5 separate regions of the Homo sapiens genome follow, and all the other regions are linked to region 4. The links are contacts of gene promoters, found by promoter capture Hi-C in human tissues and cell types (Jung and others, 2019). All regions are on one chromosome and are shown on one strand. The core of a region is centred on a gene start or on the middle of the fragment in contact, and the rest is flanking DNA. Distances in the headings are between cores, read along the strand shown.

Region 1 (2,700 bases), core at 159-2,658, 170 kb after region 4:
TACCTTGGCTCATGCACGAGGTCTTCTGGTCCTGCGGTTTTGAAAGTCTCTCCTTCTCCCCTGCATTGCTGAGAATCCAAATGTGTTTCTTGCACCAGGTAAGTCCTGGCTCTCTCCCTGGGGGCCACTGCAATAGGGTGGCAGGGCACCTCCCCACAAGAGAGGACCAAGGACTGTCCCAGAGGGGAAACAGAGTCCCTGTATGGCCCACCAAATTGTTGGAAATGGGTGCTCGGTGTCGCAAAATCAACACTGAGACAAAGGATCTCTCAGCAAGGCTAGTTTACTTTCTGCAGAAAGGGTGCTGCTCACTAGCAGTCTTGCCGTGAGAGCACACCCGAACAAAGGAGATGGGGATGTTTATAATCTTTGTAACCTGATGCAATTGTCCTATGGCTGTGTCACATTTCCATTGGTCGGAATGGGACCTCACATTCTAAGCTTGACCCGATTGGCTAACAGCTTGAAACTTTTCTAAATAGGCAAAGGGGAAAGAGAACAAAGAAAAGAGGAAGCTAGTCATGAGAGGGTCAGGAGGGTTTCCAAATAAGGAATGGCATGCACTATGGTCTGGGTCTTGCTTAACCTTGTCCAAGAATGCCAGGTCAAGTCAGAGCAGCTGCATTGGAACATATATAGATATGCATAGAGCAAAGAAATGACAAGCTCTTTATGGTTTTAAGAAACTTTGAAGAAGAACTTCTCCATTCCTCACACAAACCTCCTGCCTCAGCCTCCCAAAGTGCTGGAATTACAGGCATGAGCCACTGCGACTGGCCACGACAGTCACGTTTTAATCCTCATGCTCACTCACCTTTTCTTTGCAGCAGGAGTAGCAGTTCACTGCTTTCTCCTTGGGTTGTAATTCAAGACCCTGCCATGGAATAAGATGAGTGACCATAGACAAGTTTCTTACCTGCCTCAGTTTCCCCAGCTGCAAATGGCAGTAATTGTGCTCATCCCAGGGGTTGATGTGAGAGTCAAATGACTATGTGGTAAACTACTTGCCCAGAGCCCAGCGCCTAGTGAGTACTCAACAAGCAGAAAAAACCGGGTTTCCTGGCAGCTGTTCCATGAGGTGCTTCGGGTATAGAGTTTCAAGTCTTCAAGCAACCTTTTCAGAAGTCAAAGCTGAGGCTCAGGGAGCGCCTCTCCCAGGGACCCCTCAGCTGTCATGCAGTAGAGGCAGGTTTGCATCCATGCTGGCTTGCCCTTGAAGGTTGTGTTTTCCCACTAGGCCACCTGGGTCCTTCCTTGGCGTCTGTGACCCACCTTCATGCTTGGGCCTCCCTCTGCCCCGCGATGGTCTCCTGCCTTTCCTTTCTCTGCTTGCTTTCTGCGTGTGGTGTCCTCAGAAGGTGAGCTTGGTCCTCCATAGCCCCATTTGTAATCATATCTTGCTCATTTGTTCCAACCACCCCTATACATTAACTATTCCCAAATCCCAATTCTTCTCTTTCTCCACAGTTCCCAACAGCTCCTGAGACCAATTCCAAACCCCCACCTGCCCTGCTCCACTGAGTATTGCCCAGGTCCCTGTCACACCTGTCCTTCCCTGCCTGCAAATCTCAATCAGGAGGAGCAAAACAGGCTGGGCCGCCTAAGCTGGATTTCTCAGGGTGGAGTTCCGAGAGGCACTTCCACCTGGGTGTACCTCTTGAAGGCAGGGACTTCTGTGTTAGGGAAGATGGATGGCACTAAAGGCCGACAGATGAGAGAGGAAGGAACCCTACAAGTCATTCATTTGTTCGTTGCACACATGTTTATTGAGTGACAGTCAGGCACAGCTGCTGCCTGAGATGTTGAGCACACAGACATGCCTGAGACATGGCCCCAGCCTCGGGAGAGAAAGGCAGGCATGTAAAAAACCACATACAGGCTAGGCACGGTGGCTCACGCCTGTAATCCCAACACTTTGGGAGGCTGAGGCGGGCAGATCACGAGGTCAGGAGATTGAGACCATCCTGGCTAACACGGTGAAACCCCATCTCTACTAAAAATACAAAAAATTAGCCGGGTGTGGTGGCGGGTGCCTATAGTCCCAGCTACTTGGGAGGCTGAGGCAGGAGAATGGCATGAACCCGGGAGGTGGAGCTTGCAGTGAGCCGAGATCGTGCTACTGCACTCCAGCCTGGGCGACAAAGCGAGACTCTGTCTTAAAAAAACAAAACAAAACAAAACAAAAACACAAACAAACCACACACAGTCAGACATCAGGGCCAGCATAGAAGAGAGAGGGTCCTCAGCCCTTTTTGTCTTTATTGTCAAGGAGGAAGAGTCACCGAGCAGGCCTTCCTTACCAGTGGGCTGAGCAGTACCCCAGAAAACTGAGCCTATGCCCTAACCTCAGAACCTGTGACCGTGAACTTATTTGAAATGAGGGTTTTATAGAGTAATTAGGAATTTCAAGATGAGATCACCCTGGATTATCCAAGTGACCCCCAAATCCAGGGACAACTGTAAAGGACACACAGAGGAGAGACACAGGTAGAAGAGGAAAAGGCCAGGTAAAGACAGCGGCAGAGATTGGGGTGATGTGCCTTAGCCAAGGGACACCTGGAGTCACCAGGGACTGTACGGGGCAAGGAAGGATTCTACTCCAGATCCTTCCAAGGGAGTGTGGCCTGATTGGCACCTTGATTTTGGACTTCTGGCCTCCTAATGGTGAGGGAATAAATTTCTGTTGCTGAAGGCCCCCAG
Region 2 (2,700 bases), core at 1-2,500, 220 kb after region 4:
GATTATTAGCAGAAATATGTTAAACAGCCATTAATAGATGTTGATTCATTCCGATTGAAGCCGCTTTTTCTTCTTTTCATTTTCTTGGCTCCAATTAAGTTGCGTTCGGATGAAACCCTTCAGCTGTGGCCAACATATGCAAAAATGCCAGTCGAAGACCCAGACGTTTAAAAGTGATATTTTAGTAAATACCTGAACCAGCTCATTTTTAAAAAGATTGCTCTCGGCTGCTATTTTGGTAAGTGGCATCACGTGATAGTGATGCCAGGCTGGGGAAGGCTGGGCTGCCCATGTGGCCCGCAGGAGAGGGTGGCCTGGAAGAGGAGCACCCGGAGCACCCTGCTTATTTTCTGGGGAACCCCACGCTGCAGACCCTCTGAAGCTGAGGGCCTCCCCGACACCCTGGGCATGGCAGGAAGATATTTATGTCAACAGCAGAGTGGGGCCAGTGCACTGGCTCGGGGAGGTGGCGTGCCTGTCATTACAACACACAGCCGTCATTACGGAATACAGTAATCACACAGCACAATGCTTGTAATTACAGAAAAATGGTTTCCCTTTTTGGCGAGGCGGCGAGGGAGGGAGAGAAGGCAGCTCTTGGTGAGGCCAGCACTGGTACTCATCCCCTGAATTGGGCGGGGTTTAAAATAGGTTTCGTAGGGTGAGGCCTTGGGCCTGGCTTGGGGGTAGGCACAGACCTACCCCAAGCCGGAGCATGATCAGATGCTGGGGACTTGCAGGGACTCTGATCTTGCTGTGGTTTCATCAAGGCCACCAGCACCATCATGCAGGTCTCCTCTGCTCCCCAATGCTGCTGGGTCTCAGCAGATGTCAGCTCAGAGCTGACTCGGCCCACAGGCGCACCACCTGCAATCACGCCTCCCTCTGTGCATTTCTCCTTTCCTCATTGACCTTCTCTGGACCCTCAGATGACTCAGGACAGGATAGATTGTCACGTACACCCTGCCCCCACTGTCACTCATCATCAGAACACATACAAGGCCACAGGTCATTTAAATGCTGATTTCGCATGATCTCAGGAAGTCTGTTTTCAGTTCGGCTTGGCTCTTTGAATGCCTGCCATGGGTAGAGCCCTTTCTCAGGTTGGAAGGGGAATGGGAGGCGCAAAGGGAGCAAAACAAAGCCCCAGCCCTCCAGGTCCAGCCTCCAGCCTGGAGGAGTGAGCAAGCTGGTGCAGAAGCCGGGCCTATGGCCTCTGCAGCCTAACAGAGTCAGTCCCGTCTGGAACAAGCTTCTTCTCAGCACCCGGGTTTGTGCATCTGTAAAATGGGTCTTGGCAACAGGTTGGAATTCTGTAGGGATAGGACAAGAATTCAGCTTCCAGCCCAAAACCTGACATGCTGTAGGGATTAGAGGGCATTATTATTTGCATCATATTCATCCTAGTCAGACAGGGAAACATGGTAGAACACTGAAATGCAGGTGGAGGCTGCTCCCAGAAGAGCCGATTGGAGCTCTTGGTGGCCCCTGCCCTGGGGCAACCGGAGAGTGGGTGGGTTTTTCAAGGTGGACGGTGACTTTTAGGGGGTTCTGGCAGAGGCTGGGTGGAAGCACCAAGGTGGAGAAGTGGGCACCCAGACAGGGATGGGAGCAGCCCAGTGTAGCAGGTTCAGGTGGGGCATCTGGCGAGTAACGGGGGCCCCTGGTGGCTATACTCAACAGGGTTAAGGGGGTCTTATTGTAATTAAACAATTCACTGGGGTGACATTCACATAAGATAAAATTGATCATTTTTAAGTGTTCAACTCGGTGGCATTTAGTGCATTCACAGTGTTGAGCACCCACATTTCTATCCAGAATATTCCCATTCCCGCAGAGTACAGCTCGAACCCGCTAGCAGTCACTCCCCATCTCCCCCCTCCCCCAGTCCCTGGCAACCATTGGCCTGCCTTCTGTCTCTATGGATTTATCCATTCTGGACATTTCATATAAATGGAATCATACATTACATGGTCTTTCGTGTCTGGCTTCTTTCATTATGTTTGGAGTTTGCTCCACATTATAGCATGTATCAGAATCGCATTTCTTTTTATGGCTGAATAATATTCCATGGTCTGGGTGTACTACAATTTGTTTATCCATTTCTTCTTGGATAGCCATTTGGACTGTTTCCAAAGGGTCTTTGGAAGGGACTAGAGAGAGCCCACAAAGGCGCCTGCAGGGGCTGGGGTGGGGCTGGGCAGAGAGCTCAGTGGCTGCGCAGGGCTAGCGGGAGAGGAGGGCTGGAGGCAGCTGCTGTCAGCCCAGCCTCCGAGGCAGCTGCTCACCACTGATACCAGGGGCTCCCAGCAGCAAAGCGCTGTTGCTGGAGTGACAGTCCTCCGCTCTGATACAGAGGACCTGCAGCTGAAGCAGGCTAAACTTGCAGAGGGGCCCTTGGACAGAAGAGGCAAGATCTCTGCCTGGGCTTCTCCTTAGGCAAGTCTGTTTATTTAACAAACACTTAGAGAGCACTTATTGTGTGCCAGGCCCCGTTCCAAGCGCTTAATAAATATCGGCTCATCGAATCCGTGCAGCAAGTCTACGTAGTACGTGCTCCTATCATTCCTACTTTACAGATAAGGAATCAGAGGCTCAGAGAGGTGAAGTGACTTGCCCAAGGTCACACAGCAGTAAGTGGGAGAGTGGGGCTTGCACATAAGCAGCCCAGCTCCAGAGTTTGTGCTCTGCTACCGTAAG
Region 3 (2,700 bases), core at 1-2,500, 130 kb before region 4:
TGTTGCCGTGTCTCTCTTCAGCCTGTCAGCAGAAACAGCGTACGCTGACGTCATCCTTACACTTCATTAACGACATGCTGCATACCACTGCAGTGGCAACAGGCACAACATGCTCTGCGTGGGCTGCTCCGCCATACTAAATGGAAAGCATGTACTCATCCATCAACACAGCCTACGGGGCTTCACGTGCTGGGCCATGAGGTGGCTAGCCCTCTTGTGTTGGTGATTCTGAAGCATGGCTGCTGCTGGCGACTGACTGGGTGTTTTCCCCCCAACCCCTATGCCCAATCTCAATGGAGTCGTGATTCTCCCATCCTTGGACTGCTTCTGGTTAGTAAGCATGGAAAGCAGAAAGCAGCGGCAAGCACAAGCAAGGAGCAGTGCACCCATTCTACCTTCCTAAGCTTGGAAGTAAGTTCCAACAGTTTAGCTTCCTTAGCAGCAGAGCTCCCAGAAGACAAAAGGTCAGACTACAAAGCCGACAAGGGACAGGAAAGATAACAGGGGAGAAAAGAAATCGAGACTTTAAAAGCAGATCATGGAGTGGGAGGATAGGTTCTTACAGCTGTTAGCAACAAACTTGCTAGAAGGAACAGGTGTGTGAGCCCTAAAACCATCTGAATGGTCCAGAAGGATGCCCTCCCCAGCAGCTTGAAAAGCTTGAGCAAGAAGACTCAGGACGACAGACAGGGGCCTCAGCTCCTGCTGCTCGCCTGCCTGGCACTGCAGTGCTGGGCTCCCCACGCCCCAGAGGCTGGGTTTGTGCCCGGTGATGCGCTCCCTGGGTACTCGCCGATCCCAGGACCTATGACAGCATTTGCCTCTTTAGCTGCTTCCCTCATGAATGGGGAGAACTTGGAGGGACTGTGTCTTGCACATGCCTAGTCAACAGTTGTTGGACAAATGAATAAATATTACTTAAAAACACATTTTTAAGTAATTTCAAAATAATAAATATTACTTAAAAATACATTTTTAAGTAATTTCAAAATAATAAAATTACTTAAAAATGTGTTTATGAAGAATTTATCTTGATGGTGTTTTTAAAAGAACGGCATCTTCCTATTTCTGAGAAAAACTACCCTTCTTTTACAGAGACTTCTATCCTATGCTTAAGCTGGTGACCAAAACAATTCTAAGAAGCAGTAACTCTCAGATCACACATGCCGTGGACAAATAGTATACAGCTCACAAAACCAAGGTAGACTTCGGGATAAAAGGATCATGTCTGGCATTTACAAAGTGTTCCAATCTCAGATGAAAGAGCACTCAAACCAAATCCGTGCTCTTCCACGGATTTAGGTGCTGATGTAATAAGAACAGTGACAAACAAGGTACACAGGCAAGGCACAGTCACAGGCCTGGCAGCCGAACCAGAATGAAGCTCATGGCACTACCTTGGAAAGCGCTGCCACCCTCTGGGCCAGCTCCGCCTCCACCTCCGGGAGCGTCTCTGCCTTCCTCAGTGTCTGTTGCAGCTTTTGCTCTGCCAATTCCAAGCGCTCCTGTAACTGGCGGTTTTTATCTTCAGTCTATAAAATGAGAGCAAAGCATCAAAATGCAACAAATCTTCTAGCTGATCAGTTTTTAACAGATTGAAACAAACTGAAATGCAGATACAGACTAAGAGAGTCATGATGGAAGAGCTACAGTGATGGGAGTTGCTTCTGGGTCAGGTTTTTGTTTTTGTTTTTGTTTTTGTTTTTGTTTTTGAGACATAGTCTCGCTTTGTCACCCAGGCTGGAGTGCAGTGGCACAATCTTGGCTCACTGCAACCTCCACCTCCTGAGTTCAAGCAATTCTCCTGCCTCAGCCTCCTGAGTAGCTGCAATTACAGGCATGTGCCACCAGGTCTGGCTAATTTTTGTATTTTTAGTAGAGACAGGACTTCGGCATGTTGGCCAGGCTGGTCTTGAACTCCTAACCTCAAGTGATCCACCCGCCTCAGCCTCCCAAAGTGGTGGGATTACAGGTGTGCGCCACTGTGCCCGGCCTGGGTAAGGTTTTCTTGCTGCCAGGAGTACATGCCCACTTTCCTGGTCTTGGTTTCAATGTGCAAAACACCTCTTGTCAAAGTGTTTGCTTTTCCTAAATAACTTTTAAGAAGCTTTTTTTTTGTTTGTTTAAAGACAGAGTCTTGCTCTGTCACCCAGGCTGGAATACAGTGATACTCGTAATTACAAGAATAAGTATGGTTTACGAAACCACAGGAGACCCAATTTCTTACTACAGACTTCACTGCCTTTTTTTTTTTTTTGAGACGGAGTCTAGCTGTGTCACCCAGGCTGGAGTGCAGTGGCACAATCTCGGCTCACTGCAACCTCCGCCTCTTGGGTTCAAGCGATTCTCCTGCCTCAGCCTCCTGAGTAGCAGCTGGGATTACAGATGCGCGCCACCAAGCCCAGCTAATTTTTGTATTTTTAGTAGAGACGCAGTTTCACCATGTTGGTCAGGCTGGTCTCAAATGCCTGACCTCATGATCCACCTGCCTCGGCCTCCCAAAGTGCTGGGATTACAGGTGTGAGCCACCGCGCCTGGCCGCATTTTTTATTTTAGAGACGGGGTCTCGTTCTGTGGCCCAGGCTGGAGTCCAGTGGCACAATCATAGCACAATGAAGCCTTGAACTCCAGGGCTCAAGTCATCCTCCCTCCTTAGCCTCCTGAGTAGCTAGGGCTAAAGGCACATGCCACCATGCCCGG
Region 4 (2,700 bases), core at 131-2,630:
GTTCTGTCCATCCTGTCCCCAACAGGCACCAGTCTTTACAGAGTGAAACCCATGGTGACACATTTAGGCCCTATCTGATTGGTGACTGAATGGCTGATTCCAAGCTACAGCTTGAAGCCTCTGAGAGGCGTCCCCAGAGCACTCCCAAGCCTCTCCCGACTCTGAGAACAAGGGGGGTAGGGCTGAGAAACTCTGCTGTACTCAGGGTTTCTTTTTTATCCTGGAAGCTGCTGCAATCCACAGGCGAGGGTGGAGAGGGAGTGACCGAGAGCAGGACAGGAAGCCACTCCACAATGAACTTGACCAGAGAGGCAGTGTAGTGGCTAACACTACCCATCCGGAGGCCGGACTGCTTGGCTCAAGCCTAGCTCCGTCAGTTATCGGCTGCGCATTTCGACAAAGCCACTTAACCTGTGAGCCACAGTCCTGTCCTCTGTAAAATGGGAACAGTGATAGCTAACAGTATCTAAGCCACAGGGCTACTGCGAAAATTGTATTTGGCAGTTACAAGGGTAAGCGGCACACTGTAAGCCCCTGGGTAGGAGTTACTGAATGCTAGTATTACTCTCAGACAGCCGTGAAAAGCATATTCCGAGACAGAAAGGAAATGATGCGAGGCAGGCTCACCCAACCTCTGCCCCTCCCCCACACCTTCTCTGACTCATCTTTTCTTCAGTGAGTTTTCTAATTTACCCGGGCAGAAGTGGGTGGAGGAAAAAGGACTGTGCGTGTCCACGCCCTGCAACCTCGAATAAGTTAACTTTTCTGCGTTTCTGGCTCTCCCATCTGCAAAACCAGGGCTGTACGGAGAAAACCCACGCAAATCAAACCCGGCAAAGGGGAGGCGCCTGGAGGCCAACCGGAGGAGCCTCGCAGCACCTACAGCCGGGCGACCAGGCCCTGGCTCCCCCGGCCCGGCCCCGCGCCCACCTTCTTCCCCAGGCGCGGCCCCGGCCGCCGCCCCCGCCTCGAAGTCGTCGACGCGCCGCAGCAGGTCGTGGCGCCGCAGGGAGGCGAGCAGCTCGCGCAGGAGCTCGGTGTGCCCGGGCTCCAGGTCGTTCTGCTCCAGCAGCATGGAGAAGAGGTCTAGGCCGCTCTGCACGCGCTCCAGCTTGCGCTTGCCCACGCGCCCGAGGCATAGGAACTTGAGCTCGGTCAGCTCGCTGCTCGACAGGCTGGACGACACCGAGTGCAGCAGCACCAGGAACGGGTCCATGGCGGGGTCTGCAAGCGGCCGGGGCTGCGGCCCGGCCCTCCGTGCGCCCTCTGTCCTCGGCTCGCTGGCCCTGGCCAGGTCTCGCCGCTTGCCCAGCGGCCCAAGGATTCCACCCCCGAACCTGCACTCCGGTGCCTGATTCACTACAGGAAATCGACAAGAGCGCGTTTTCGACCGTTATCTCGCGAAAACTAAGGGACCCGCGCATGCGTCCCTAGCGAAGCCGCAGCCGTTTCCGCCCTGGCTGGCGGCGCCGCGGACGGGCGCGGCTTCTGCGCCTGCGCCCGGCGTATCGTCTCTTTTCCGGGTGGGAGGTGGGGCCTTGGGTGTCCTGAGAGCCTGCAGGTGGCCCAGCTCTCTGCGGTGAGGGCGGTCGCGCCTCTGCCGAGTCCACCTGTTTGCAAAGCGCGGTGCGGCCCTACTGTGTGCAGGGCCGGGGCGGGGAGGGCGCAGCCCGAACGTCACGTGCCCTCACATCTGTTGGTGACCAAGGTTACTTATGCATTAACGTTTAGGGACAAACGTGGAAAATGCATTCTTTGGTGCCCCTGGAGACATCTTGTGTGTGCAGAAAACACTACTCAGAAGTTTATGTGCGTTTAAACATGTGATTTAAATAATACATGATTTCCAAAGTAGCAGTCGTTTATTCAATCAACAGTATTGAGCGCCTACTGTGCCAGGTAGTAGGGTCTGGGGACAAATTAGTGAGCGAAGCGCGAGGGTCCCCGCGTGCCCGGAGTTTACATCATAATTACAAAAGCGACACGCTCCAGAAGAGAAGGTCGTGGCGGCCGTGGTGGCTCAGCCTGCAATGCCCGCACTTTGGGAGGCTGAGGCAGGATTGATTGAGACAAGGGGTTCGAGACCAGCCTGGGTAACATAGTGAGACCCCGTCTCTATTAAAAAATAAAAATAAGGAAAAATAAGGAAATCGTATAGTATGCCAGAAATTCAGAAGAGCCAGGGGAAAGGGAGTCTCTTCACGGGGTGGGCGTGTGGAGGGTGGGGGGCCCGGTGGTCTGATGGGGCCTCTGTAAAGGCGCAGGTGAAGGCTGGGAGGGGCCGGGTACCTAGGTGTGGGGGGAAGAGCTGGGCACACGGAGAACAGAAGAGCAGAGCACAGGGGACGGCTGGGGTTCCAGGAGCAGCAATGCCGTGGGTCTGGAGGTGAGGAGGGGGTGCAGATTAGGAGAGCCCTCACCAGCCAACAAGGACCCAGCTTTACCACAGGGTGGGGCAGGGGCTGATGCCAGCTGAGTTTGTTTTCTTGAGATATAATTCACATACCATTCAATTCACCCTTTTAAAGTTATACTTCAGTGGTTTTTAGTGTAGTCACAAGGTTGTGCAACCCTTACTGCTGTCTAACTTTAGGACATTTTCATCACCCCAAGAAGAAACCCATTAGCATGTACTCCTCCCCTCCCCCACCAACCACGAATCTACTTTTTTTTTCTTTCTTTCTTTTTTTTTTTTTTTTT
Region 5 (2,700 bases), core at 99-2,598, 200 kb after region 4:
GGAGCTTCCAGTTGCGGGCTATCATGAACAATGCTACTGGGGACACTTTCACTCATGGCTTTGGATGTGTGTGCATTTCTGTTGAGTAACTGCTCAGGGGTGGCTTTGCTGGGCCACAGACTATGTGTTTGTTCAATAGTAAATCTGCCTATCAGTCTTCCAGAGTATCAGTCTCCACACCCATGAGCAGTAGGCAAGGGTTCCAGTTGCTCCATGTTCTTGCCAAAGCTCGGTATCTCATGCGCTTTGAAATTTCAGCCCCTCAGGTGGGTGTATGATGGTAATCTCAGGGTGGTTTTGCTTTGCATTTCCTGATGACTAATGAACTTGAGTGCCTTTTCTTATGCTTATCAGGCCTTTTCCTTTAAAATGCTTTTTAGTGACCTGACATGACTTTTAGATTGGTGGGGAGTGTGCATCCCCCCCCGGCCCATCTCTATCTTTCACTAACAAGCTTTCCCTTATAAAGCAGATGTCACATTCCATTTTCTTCCTCTGTGAGTGCCTCAAACACACAAATGAAACATCTAGCTAATTACAGGCAAAAAGAAAACCTCTCCGTTCATTTTTTTTCCCAAGGGCTCATTTTGGGTAGCTATGTCCCCACTTTATTATCTCCATCCAAAAAGTGACCTCACTTGGTTGCAGTTACAAAGGTTTTCTTATGGGAATTCCCCTGGGAGTCCTCTGTAAGTTCCTTCCTGAGACTTTATCTTGGCAGCAGCGAGCATTTGGTTACACCTGGCTCAGAAACTTTCACAATAAAGCAGTATGGGCCGTGCTCTGAATAGAACTCTTTGGGGCCTCCCTTCCCTTTTTCCCAGTGCTAGGGAAACCCCTAGTACTCTCATCAGACACTCCCCAGGGTGGCCATGTGATAGCCCTCCCTCCTGCCTCCAATGCCTCCACATTCACAAAAGGATAGGAACCCCAGCCTGTTTGATCCTCAGTAAGGCACGTGGGTCCCTGGCCAATTTGCAGCAGAAAGAAAAGCTGCAGTACAAATGCCTCATTCATTCAGCAAATGTTTATTGAGCACTTAGTAAGTGACAGTCCCTGTGCTAGGCATTGATTCAGAGATGAGCCCAAGAGACATGGCCCTTTTCCCCTGGCGTTTATGTTAGCGGGTGAGGAGGGCCAGATGGTGCGTAAAGCCAACACATTAGAATCCTGTTATGTTCTCAGATGCTGCTGGTGAGCACGGAACCTAGCAAAGCACTCTGGCAAATTGTTTGGGAGTTTCTTAAATCATTAAAGGCGCTTTCATCCTATGTCATAACACAGTGATATAGTTTGGACATTGTCCCCGCCCAAATCTCATATCGAAATGTCGTCCCCACTGTTGGAGGTGGGACCTGGTGGGAGGTGATAGGATCATGGGGACAGTTTCTCAAGCGTGGTTAATAGTGTGTCCTTGGTACTGTCCTCATGAGAGTAAGTGAGTTCTCATGAGATTCAGTTATTTAAAAGTGTGTGGCACCTCCATGCTGTCTCTCTTGCTCCTGCTCTGGCCATATGATATGCCTGCTTCCCCTTCGCCTTCCTCCATGATTGTAAGCTTCCTGAGTCCTACCCAGAAGCTGAGCAGATGCCGCCATGCTTCCTGTACAGCCTGCAGAACCGTGAGCCAATTCAACCTCTTTTCTTTGTAAATTGCCCAGACTCAGGTCTCTCTTTCTTTCTTTCTTTTTAAAAAATCTCTTTTTTTTTTTTTTTTGAGACAGTCTCACTCTGTCACCCAGGCTGGAGTGCAGTAGTACAATCTTGGCTCACCAGGCTCAGGTATTCCTTTTATTCTTTCAAACAGAGTTTTGCTCTTGTTGCCCAGGCTGCAGTGCAATGGTGCTATCTCGGCTCACTGCAACCTCCACCTCCTGGGTTCAAGCGAGTCTCCTGCCTCAGTCTTCCAAGTAGCTGGGATTACAGGCACCTGACACCACGCCCAGCCAATTTTTGTATTTTTAGTAGAGATGGGGTTTTGCCATGTTGGTCAGGATGGTCTCGAACTCCTGACCTCAGGTGAACCACCTGCCTCAGCCACCCAAGTGCTGAGATTGCAGGTGTGAGCCACTGCGCCTGGCCAGGTATTTCTTTTTGGCAATGGGAGAATGGCCTAATACACCCAATGATTCCAGTTGAATATATTTATCAGAGATATAAAAACACACATCCATAAAAATATTTCTTCCTTGCAGCTTTATTAATAATGGCTTCGAACTGGAAACAGCCCCAGGATCTTCCTAGAAGAATGGATACCCCATGAGGACGCCCACACAATGGGGCACTGGGGGACATACTACTCATGAACACCAAAACATTTCCCCTGAACCGAGGACGCTGGACACAGGAGAATCTGCACTCATGCTTTTATTTATAGGAAGAGCTAGAATAGGCAGAATTATGCCATGGGGCAATGGGGCGGGGGGATTGGTGGGGAAGGGGCAAGAGGCCACGTTCTGGGGTGATGGAGCTATTTTATATCTTAATGGGGTGTAGATGTTTAGATTTGTGTTACAATTGATCCAATTGTTCACTTAAGATCTGGACATTTTACTGTATGTAAATTACAGCTCAGTCTAAAACACCTAGTTACAAAGTCCTATACAGGAGAGAAACCCGTGTGAGGAGTGTGCTGAATGCATGCTCACAGCTGGATGGAGTGGTCCAGGAGGGTCTCTGTCCAGGTGACTTTTAAGCCAA

The links. The method cuts DNA at HindIII sites, captures the fragments that hold promoters and counts their contacts. A contact is called where the count stands out against the background at its distance.
Region 1: a contact is called between a fragment that was not itself captured here and the fragment with the promoter of FADD in region 4, in 4 of the 25 tissues and cell types used here (heart left ventricle, liver, mesenchymal stem cells and 1 more).
Region 2: a contact is called between a fragment that was not itself captured here and the fragment with the promoter of FADD in region 4, in 1 of the 25 tissues and cell types used here (H1 embryonic stem cells).
Region 3: a contact is called between a fragment that was not itself captured here and the fragment with the promoter of FADD in region 4, in 1 of the 25 tissues and cell types used here (H1 embryonic stem cells).
Region 5: a fragment that was not itself captured here is called in contact with the fragment with the promoter of FADD in region 4 in 2 of the 25 tissues and cell types used here (lymphoblastoid cells and mesendoderm cells).

The regions. Positions count from the first base shown.
Region 1 is chr11:70,036,084-70,038,783 of GRCh38, reverse strand. It overlaps a transcript of ANO1 not described here. Among named protein-coding and RNA genes, the nearest start is that of LINC02753, 28 kb to the left of the region's middle. The HindIII fragment of the contact is 7,069 bases long and covers 1-2,700 here.
Region 2 is chr11:69,981,210-69,983,909 of GRCh38, reverse strand. It overlaps a transcript of ANO1 not described here. Among named protein-coding and RNA genes, the nearest start is that of LINC02753, 83 kb to the left of the region's middle. RefSeq lists enhancers at 1,295-2,017, 2,018-2,700. The HindIII fragment of the contact is 4,687 bases long and covers 1-2,700 here.
Region 3 is chr11:70,330,792-70,333,491 of GRCh38, reverse strand. It overlaps PPFIA1 (PPFI scaffold protein A1), which reads right to left. Exons shown (of 28, transcript NM_003626.5): 9 at 1,398-1,532; 10 at 1-22. Among named protein-coding and RNA genes, the nearest start is that of MIR548K, 48 kb to the right of the region's middle. The HindIII fragment of the contact is 3,804 bases long and covers 1-2,700 here.
Region 4 is chr11:70,201,976-70,204,675 of GRCh38, reverse strand. FADD (Fas associated via death domain) reads right to left here and starts at 1,380. Exons shown (of 2, transcript NM_003824.4): 1 at 931-1,380. The coding sequence starts at 1,216. RefSeq lists silencers at 650-841, 891-970. The HindIII fragment of the contact is 27,989 bases long and covers 1-2,700 here.
Region 5 is chr11:69,998,049-70,000,748 of GRCh38, reverse strand. It overlaps a transcript of ANO1 not described here. Among named protein-coding and RNA genes, the nearest start is that of LINC02753, 66 kb to the left of the region's middle. The HindIII fragment of the contact is 5,000 bases long and covers 1-2,700 here.